Regions from separate parts of the Homo sapiens genome. Here all the other regions are linked to region 2. Evidence: promoter capture Hi-C in 16 types of primary human blood cells and fetal thymus (Javierre and others, 2016). All regions are on one chromosome and are shown on one strand. Each heading gives the region's core, a stretch centred on a gene start or on the middle of the fragment in contact. The rest is flanking DNA. Distances are from core to core; before and after follow the strand shown. Region 1 holds the start of C2orf15 (chromosome 2 open reading frame 15). Region 2 holds the start of TMEM131 (transmembrane protein 131). Region 3 overlaps LIPT1 (lipoyltransferase 1).

Region 1 (2,972 bases), core at 469-2,968, 1.1 Mb before region 2:
CACTTTGGGAGGCTGAGGCGGGTGGATCATGAGGTCAGGAGATCAAGACCATCCTGGCTAACACAGTGAAACCCTGTCTCTACTAAAAATACAAAAAACAAAAAACAAACAAAAAAAAAGCTGGGCGTAGTAGTGGGCGCCTGTAGTCCTAGCTACTTGGGAGGCTGAGGCAGGAGAATGGCATGAACCCGGGAGGCGGAGGTTGCAGTGAGCCGAGATCGTGCCACTGCACTCCAGCCTGGGCGACAGAGTGAGACTCTGTCTCAAAAAAAAAAAAAAAAAAAAAAAAAAGGTTTAGTTGGGGCAGGGTGGGACACTCACTACCCCTTGGGTTTCCACAGAGGGAAGGAAATTTTTACTTTCTCAGGTTAGGGGAGAAAGTCAACAGTTCTTGATAGGAAAAAAAAGGAAAATCTTTTCACCCTCTTTTGGCCTTAAAATGATCATTTCCTTATATTCTTTCCAAATAATCTTCAGTACCGTCTAGGTGGCATACATAAGTGCTTAAACTTTTCTTATTCTTTCTATAAGGGAAGTACTTTCCTACTTCCTATATTAATAATCTCCCCACCCCCGAAGTCTTCAACTCCAGCTGATAGTTTTAAACTTAGAACATTCTTTCCTATTTGTTTTTAATAATGCTAGATAATGTATTCAAAATAATCTTAGTATCTGAAGAGGAAATGAGATTATACATTATTCCCTCTAACATAACTTCTCAGTTTGTTATTTTGTGCATTTAAAAAATTACATTTCCGAGGATATGTGCTCCTTGTGTCCTCTAACCTCTTAATCTAAAATAACAGGGACACTTAATTTTTTTTGGTATCTAATTATACTTACAAAGTATATGATATCTGAAAATAAATGCGACAAAATATGAGACCATGTAATAACACGATGAAAAGACATTGGAAAAACATGGCATTTATATTAAATGTATTTTTATGACTAAATTTGTTCTACACAAAAGTTGTTTATCCCTGCCAATGATATCTTGTGGGGGGAAAAATGAGTACTCACCTGGCGAAAACAGGAATTGTTAGTCTCCTCAAACGAGAGCTTACTCTTGAAATACACAGCGTTCTACCATATCAAGGTCATCAGAGAATTGCTGTAAAAACCTAGTGTCTATGTCATCTGCAGGAAAAGGAGATAAAGTCACCATTATCATCCAGAAGCTCTTGAGTTATTTAAGAAGGGACATGGTAGGTATTAAGAAAAATTAAGAAGACTTTTTTCCCCCCCATTCTGGGCTCCAAAAAATTGGTAGAAGAATGCAGCGCTCATTCTTTTTCACTAAAAAGCTCATTTGTCACTTTAAGGTGAGGGGATTTGGAAAAGGACTGGCATGTGGAGAAGGAATATCGGTCAGGAATCTGGACTTTGTTGCTAGATCTGCCACTTCCTGATTCAGCCCTGATCGTGCAGAGCTGACCAAGGCCGTGGTCCCCAGGCTCCCCTGACTCCAGGCTGCCCACGCTCACCGGGACAGGCCGGCTCGCTCCCTGCAGGCTGCAGCGGGAGGGCTGGACCTGGAAGCCTCTCTTAAAACGGGCCCTGGCTGCAGCAGGAGCTGCGCCCGAAAGCAGCTCTGAGAGTAACCGGTTCACCGAACATGGGTCCAGAATGATGCCCAAGCCCTGGGAAAAGTGGCACAAAGCCACCGCCGCGAAGCAGCAGGTGTTTCAAGCTGAGGGAAGGCGGGGCTGCGAGAGACAGCCTTGCGCATGCGCGTTCCATCCAGGTGCGGCAGCCTCAGGCAGAGATTAAGAAATGAGTCGTGGAAAAGGGGGCTAGCGGCTGGTTACTAGGAGACGGGACGCTCGGCTCGGGCGTCTAGGCGCTGCGTGGGCGTGCGCCTGCGCGGCGCGGATGGGCCAGGAAGGGGTCCCTCCTAGGTGCCCTGTAAGGCAGGCAGGTAGACGTACGCGTCGCTCCGTGCGTAGGAGCGCGCGCACGGCTTGTAGACCCCGCGAGAAGGAAGGTCGAGCCAGGTACGCGTGCGCACCGGGCCTGGGGGCGAGCGGGACGGAAGCAAAGCTGGGGCGCCGGGGAGGTGGAAGACGAGCCCCACTCCGGTACAGAGCGTGAGGGCGGGGCCACGGCGGCACTGGCTGGCGCTAACCGCCCCCTCCTCCTTCCCGCGGGCTCCGTCCTTCCTCCGATCCGCCGGGGCGGGGCCAGGACGATTTGGGGGTGGGAAGGGAGGAGAAAGGGGCGGAGGATGGAGAGTGGGCGGTTCTTGTATCCCCCGCTGAGGCCGAGAGCTGACAGTCGCGGGGATGAGCTCTGGGCAGGACGGCGGGCCGAGGAGCCCGGGGAGGGACCCGGAGCTCCAGGTAGAAGCTGCGGAGGTGCGCGGGGTGGGGAGAGTGCTGCTACTGGACTGGAAGGTCTCTGAGAAGGCGGCTGCAAGCGGGCAGGAGTGGCGGGTGCGGGGCCGTGGCGGGCGGAGTTGGGCGCTAGCAGCGGGAGCGGCTGTGAGGGGCAGCGGCGGGCACAGCTGCCGGCCGGAAGCTCGGCAGCACGAGTTGCCCCTGTTTCTTGGGAGGTTAGGTTTGAGCCCAGTTCCTATGGTCACTGCTTCGCGTCCTCCCGCAGCTCTCCGCTTGGTTGTTGGGGAGACTGTTCAGTTTAGAAACGCTCTGGAAGCTCTGGTGGAGCCGAGGAATTTGGAAGTCACAGATTTGGGAGTTCAGCCTGACTCCCGATCGCTCATTTCTGAGCCTCTTTCTAGACTTGGGGTGGTGAAAGGCTGAGATTACATAGGCATTTGCATGAAAATCTCAGATAATTTTAGTAAAAATTATACACAGTAAAGGCAGGGAAAGCTGGCTTTTGTTGAAAAACTATTTGAGACTTAAATTGGATAACTAGGTGATCATGGACTTGATACCTAAAAACTCACAGAAATATGGTTTTTTTTCACTTTTTTTTTTTCGCAGCTTCGGGAAAGTTTGCATAGATTA
Region 2 (2,982 bases), core at 366-2,865:
GCACTACCACGCCCGGCTAATTTTTATATTTTTTAGTAGAGACGGGTTTTCACCATGTTGGCCAGGCTGGTCTCGAACTCCTGACCTCAGGTGATCCGCCCACCTTGGCCTACCAAAGTGCTGGGATTACAGGCGTGAGCCACTGCGCCCTGCCCTAAAATTGCTTTTTAAAATCATTAGGCTAAGGTCATATTTAAATATATATTAATTTATGAATAAATTTAAGTGCTTGCTTGACACAGGGGACTACTTCATAGAGTAGATTCTGGAGTTCCTTTTGTCTTTCTGAAACCTTATTTTCCTATCTAGCTTGTTCTGAGACGTACTGTGGGCAGACTTGGCCTTACACATATATCGACTCACTCAACAAATACAGCTAAGGAAAGTAAAATGTCTCTGGGCTACAAGCTGGGAGGAAGTTACTAAGATGAGTAAAGAAGGACCCCCTCCAAGAGCTTAAATTAAGTCTTGGAGACAACAGCCATGCGCACCAAGAAGCTCAACCTAAGATGAAAAGGGCATCTAAGAGGCGCGAGATGGCTCGTGAAGGTAACAGACGTCTTAAGAATTTTTCCGGGCCCAGCACAGTGGCTCACGCCTGTGATCCCAGCACTCTGGAAGGCCGAGGAAGGCGGACTGCTTGAGCCCAGGAGTTCGAGACCTGCTCGGCCAACATAGTGAGACAGCGTTTCTTAAAAGAAAAAGAAAAATTGGCGTGGCGTGGTGGCGGGTGCCTGTAGTCCCAGACCGCACCACTGCACTCCAGCCTGGGCGGCAGAACCAGACCCTGTCTCAAAAATAAATAAATAATTAAAAAATAAAGAAAAGAAAAAAAAGAATTCTTCCTCGAGAGAGGAAGCCGGCTACTGGATATTCTAAAGAGCAGTCTGTTTGCCCCTGCCTTCTCCATCCAGAGTCACCGACGCTTTCTGCACACGAGGTGTTCCGCGCCAATGTGGGCACAAGCCAAGGCAAGAGGACTCCATCAAGCTCCTCCTGGGTACCATGATTTGGAAGACCCAAGGATGAGTTCAGCGGGCCACCATCCTCAAGGAAGCACCATCAAGAACTGAGTCAGGCCCGGGGTATTCTCGACGTCAAAGCGGTCGAGAGGTGGGGGTGCCACCAGGAAGAGTCACTGGAACGGACCTTCCGCGCTCGTCTCGCGGTCTGTATGCGCACTCACACCCCTGGAAGGCTCTACCACTGTAGGACAGAGCACGGAGGATTGCCCAGGCGCCGGAGAAGAGGTTAGCGCCCCGCAACTCCGCCCCTGCCCCGCCCACGCAACGCGGCGGCTGCGCGGCGAGGCCGCCCCGTCTCCACGTGATTGCCGACACCGCCTCCGCGAAGCAGAAGCCGCCATCATAAGTCCTGGCAGCTGGACCTGGGCCTGCCTCCCTCCTTCTCCTGCGCCAGGTAGCGGTAACGGGCTGGGGTTGTTCTGTCCTGGTTCTGTCTGGCCGTGAAGCCGCAGGCCTCCGAGAGCGGGACGAGGAGGTGGGGCCCAGGGGGCTCCGGGGCGGACAGACTGACCGCCGGACAGCCCAGGTGTCGGCACAGCGTGGGCGGTGCCCAGAGCCGCGCCCCGCCCCTCGCAGGCCAGCGCTCAGGGCTCGCGGGCCGTGCCCGTTTCCAGTATGGCCGCCCGCCGCGCCTGACCCGCGGCCTCTCCGCTCCGACTGCTTGTAGGCGATGCCCAGGCAAAGACCGTGACTGACACTCTCGCTCACACGCACGCACGGACCCAGGCCCACGCTCGGAGATCGAGCCCCGGGCTCGCAACCGTTGTCGCTCCCGGCGCCGCGGCCAGAGCCCGGACCACGGCTTCCGCGCCGCCGCCGCCTCGCCGAGAAGGGCCGCGCCGGACCTCGAGCGCGGCGGCCCCCGGCCGGCAGGGATGGGGAAGCGGGCGGGAGGAGGAGCAACCGGAGCCACCACCGCCGCCGTCTCCACGTCCGCCGGGGCCGGGCTGGAACCTGCGGCCGCCCGTAGCGGGGGCCCGCGGAGCGCGGCCGCCGGCCTCCTAGGCGCGCTGCACCTGGTGATGACCCTCGTAGTGGCTGCGGCGCGGGCCGAGAAGGAAGGTGGGTGTCCCCCGGCGGCGTCCCTGCGGCGGGGCTGTCACCCCGCTCTCGCGGAGGCCGGGAGGGCTGGGCCGGGAGGAAGGGCCGCGGCCGGGGCTCCGGCGCAAAGTTGGGCGGTCGGGTACCGTCCCGAGCCGGGACCTCGCGGCGCCCGCCGCACGGAGTGGCCTTCGCTCTCCGTGATTCCTTCCCGTGCCTTCCCCCGTCTCCTGTCACTGCCATTTCAAAACTTCCTGACTTCTCGTACGTTCTTGCCACTTGGCCCGCTAGGTAGGAGGGGCATATTTTTTGGCTTTATTGCGGCGAATAGGTACATTTTAGGACACTTCTGTTTTCTTGGTTGCGGTTGGTTGCATGCAGACAGAGCTTACTTTAAAATGTGGTAAAAATAGCGAGACACAGCTTAAAAAATTTCACTTTGAATTTGTTCAGACATTTCTTCGAGGGGAAATCTTGGTCCTGTAGCTTCCTCCTTTAGTGTCTCTGCGTTATTGATAACTTTATTATTAGACCTAAATACAATTCCATTTAACTCTTTAGTAAGCTGTTGAAAGCCTGTTTACATTTCTTATTTTAAAATACGTGATTCGGTGCCTTTATCTTTGATGTGAAAGCCTTTAAAAATAAACGTGAAGTTGCCAGCTTGCAAGCATTTATCTATAATTTACAGTTAAGGGCTGGCCCCTATTTTAAAAATCTCATTAGTATTGTACTGCTGCAAAACGGGTACTTGGACAGGGTCAAAAATTATTTTGTAATCTTGAAGACCAAATCAGTGTAATTTCATCTACACTACCTCTTTTTGAGCCAAGGGACATGTGAATGGTCACAGAGCCTTCATGAAGAATTGACTAAGTGAATAGTTTAAAAAAAAAACAAACCACGCAAAACTTGT
Region 3 (3,090 bases), core at 24-2,523, 1.2 Mb before region 2:
TAGAATATAATTTTCCTTCAGGTTGAAGAACTGGGAATAGAATGGATTATTAAAGTGTATAACTTGAGGTTAAGAGTTTGGTTCTAAATAAAGAAAGTTCATAACTAGGTAGCTAGGCTTTTTTATTTTTTATTTTTAAGACAGGGTATCACTCTGTAATTGTCTCACTGCAGCCTCGACCTCCTGGGCTCAAGCAATCTCCACATCTCAGCCTCTGAAGCAGCTGGGACTACAGGTATGCGCCACCATGCCTGGCTAATTTTTAAATTTTTTGTAGAGATGGGGGTCTCCCTACGTTGCCTAGGTTGATCTTGAACTCCTGGGCTTCAGTGATCCTCCTGCCTCAGCCTCCCAAAGTGCTGGGATTATAGGCATGGGCCACTACACCTGGCCCCAAATCATTTAGTTAAGTAATATCTTAGAAGTACAATTCTAGATTAAAGAGTCTTCATATTTTCATCACTCTTGTTGTAGTTTATAAACTAACCTACAAAAAGTTGAATCAGTTTACATTCTGTCTAGAAAGGTGTGGAGAGGTTTAATAGAGGAAGGAATACTTGAACTGAGTCACCAAATCTGATAAGTTTGCCAGGTCGAGGAGCATATTCCAGGCATATGCAAAGACAAAGAGTCATCTAATAGTAAGGTATGTTTGGGGATTCCCTCCTAAGAGAAAGAGTTACACTACTAGTCTTCGACTTCCACTTAAGCCTATGGCTATACTGTCCTAGGAAGCCTCGCAACCGAGACTGCATTACTTTGGTTAACCTCTTTGTTCTTGGTTCTGCTTGACTGACTTTGACACAGTACCATATTCATTCAACAAGTATTTATGGAGTTCCTACTAGGTACAAGGTAATAAGGAGATAGAAAATGGGAGGAGATAAATTCATGTAATGAACCAAAATATTTGGACTTTTTAAAAGGCAGCTAAGATCCACTGAAGTGTTAAGCAGGAAGTGTTAACTCAGCTGTTATACGAATCTGCCTCTGCAGGGTTGAGTATGGATTAAATAAAGGATGGACTAGGGACAGGGGGAACAGTTAATGGACTAAGGCAGTTGTCCATGCTAGAGATAATGAGGGCCTAAAGTACGGTAGGAGAGAGAGAGAGAGAGAAGGGGATGGATATGAGTGACATTAAGAAGGTGAACTGGCCGGGCGCAGTGGCTCATGCCTGTAATCCCAGGACTCTGGGAGGCCGAGGCAGGCGGATCACGAGGTCAGGAGATCGAGACCATCCTGGCTAACACAGTGAAACCCCGTCTCTACTAAAAATACAAAAAATTAGCCGGGCATGGTGGCAGGTGCCTGTAGTACCAGCAGCTCTGGGAGGCCGAGGCAGGCGGATCACGAGGTCAGGAGATTGAGACCATCCTGGCTAACACAGTGAAACCCCGTCTCTACTAAAAATACAAAAAATTAGCCGGGCATGGTGGCGGGCGCCTGTAGTCCCAGCAGCTCTGGAGGCTGAGGCAGAAGAGTGGTGTGAACCCGGGAGGCGGAGCTTGCAGTGAGCCGAGATCGTGCCACTACACTCCAGCCTGGGCGACAGAGCAAGACTCCGTCTAAAAGAAAAAAAAAGAAAAGAAGGTGAACCTGTCCTTGCCTTCAAGAAACAAGTACCTCCACAATCTAGTGGGAGATACTAAAAAACAAGTAAGGCAATAATTAAAATACAGTGTCCTAAATGCTGTGATAGGTGTTAAGTACAGTAGAGCGCCATCTAATGCTCTAATTAGTGGATGTGACATTGAAGCTGAGACATAAAAGGGATAAAGAAAAGAATTCTAACAATGTGCAACAGCTTAGTGGAAAAGGAGATAGGACCCATGCAAATAATTTAATTCTACTGGCTGGTTATTAGGAATACAAGAATGGGGAGTTAATAAGAAGGCAAGAGAAGTAGATGTTAGATTATAAAGAACCTTAAATCCAAGTGAAATGCTTGAACTTTATTGCCCAGGATGGAGTGCAGTGGTGTGATCACGGCTCACTGCAGCCCCGACCTCCTGGGCTCAAGCAATCCTCCCCCTTTAGCCAGCATGTGCCACCACGCCTGGCTATTTTTTTTTTTTTTTTTTTTTTGTAGAGATGAATCTCACTTTGTTGTCCAGGCTGGTCTCAAACTCCTGGGCTCAAGCAGTCCTCCTGCCTTGGCCTCCTAAAGCACTCGGATTACAGGCATGAAGGCTTTGGATTTATACTTCAGGGACACCGCCTAGAGATTTTAAGCATGGAGAATGTACAATACTTGGCAATAGGTTGAATTAGGGTGAGAGAAAGAGAAGTCAAGCATCATGTCCTTTATGATATAATGATTACAAGCTCAAACCAGAGTGCCCTCATTCAAATCCCAACTCTATCCTTTATCAGTTGAATGACCTAAGGCAGATTACTTTTCTATGTCTCAGATTTGTTATCTAATATGTGGATAATGACAGGACTCATCTCATATTATCAGGCTGAGTCTGATGAGCTAATACATATAAAGTGGTTAGAAGAGTGCCTGGCACTGAAGAAAGTACACAATATGTGCTAACTATTTTATTAATATTATGCCCTGATTTCTGGCCTGGCAAAGAGGTGAAATTTCCTAGGACAGATTTTATAGGAAGAGGAAGTATGGGGTTAAGATAATTGGTTCATTTTGACTGTTGAACTAGCGGCCAACGGCACAGAGCTCAATGGATGGTAACTGAGGCCACAGGAAGGTGGTTCAGTGAGAAGATTTAAGGGCCTGCGACATAAGACTGAAGAGCAGCAACATTTAACGGACATACAGAAGAAGGAGGGAGAGCTCCCAAAGGAAGCTGAGGATAGAAGAAAAGGCAGAAAAATTTTAAATATGCTATTATGGAAGCTTCAAGGAGACAAGATGGTCAACAGTGCCAAATGCCAAAGATTGAGCAAATAAGATGAGGGTTGAAAAGGATCTATTAAACAGTATCAAGAAGGTTATCAGTGATCTTGGTAAGAACCAGATGTACTGAGTAAATAGGAGGCCCAAGGTGGATACAATGAGGGTATTCTAGTTGTGAAGTGGAAAAGCTAGGGCAGTAGGTAGAAAGGAATGTGGAGTTAGGAGAG

What was found. Contacts are between HindIII fragments. The CHiCAGO score rates a contact against its expected background, and 5 or more counts as called.
Region 1: a contact is called between the fragment with the promoter of C2orf15 here and the fragment with the promoter of TMEM131 in region 2, in 1 of 17 cell types (non-activated CD4 T cells). The highest score is 6.3, in non-activated CD4 T cells.
Region 3: a contact is called between a fragment that was not itself captured here and the fragment with the promoter of TMEM131 in region 2, in 1 of 17 cell types (total CD8 T cells). The highest score is 6.3, in total CD8 T cells.

The regions. Positions count from the first base shown.
Region 1 is chr2:99,140,453-99,143,424 of GRCh38, reverse strand. It overlaps C2orf15 (chromosome 2 open reading frame 15), which reads right to left and starts at 1,718. Exons shown (of 4, transcript NM_144706.4): 1 at 1,488-1,718; 2 at 1,024-1,140. All of the region lies in intron 1 of TSGA10 (testis specific 10), which reads left to right. RefSeq lists an enhancer at 981-1,787 and silencers at 2,009-2,318, 2,389-2,458. The HindIII fragment of the contact is 4,390 bases long and covers 1-2,972 here.
Region 2 is chr2:97,994,581-97,997,562 of GRCh38, reverse strand. TMEM131 (transmembrane protein 131) reads left to right here and starts at 1,615. Exons shown (of 41, transcript NM_015348.2): 1 at 1,615-2,087. The coding sequence starts at 1,901. RefSeq lists enhancers at 906-1,185, 1,356-1,869 and silencers at 1,406-1,655, 1,766-2,325. The HindIII fragment of the contact is 7,821 bases long and covers 1-2,982 here.
Region 3 is chr2:99,157,428-99,160,517 of GRCh38, reverse strand. All of the region lies in intron 1 of LIPT1 (lipoyltransferase 1), which reads right to left. Among named protein-coding and RNA genes, the nearest start is that of LIPT1, 4.0 kb to the right of the region's middle. The HindIII fragment of the contact is 3,184 bases long and covers 1-2,865 here.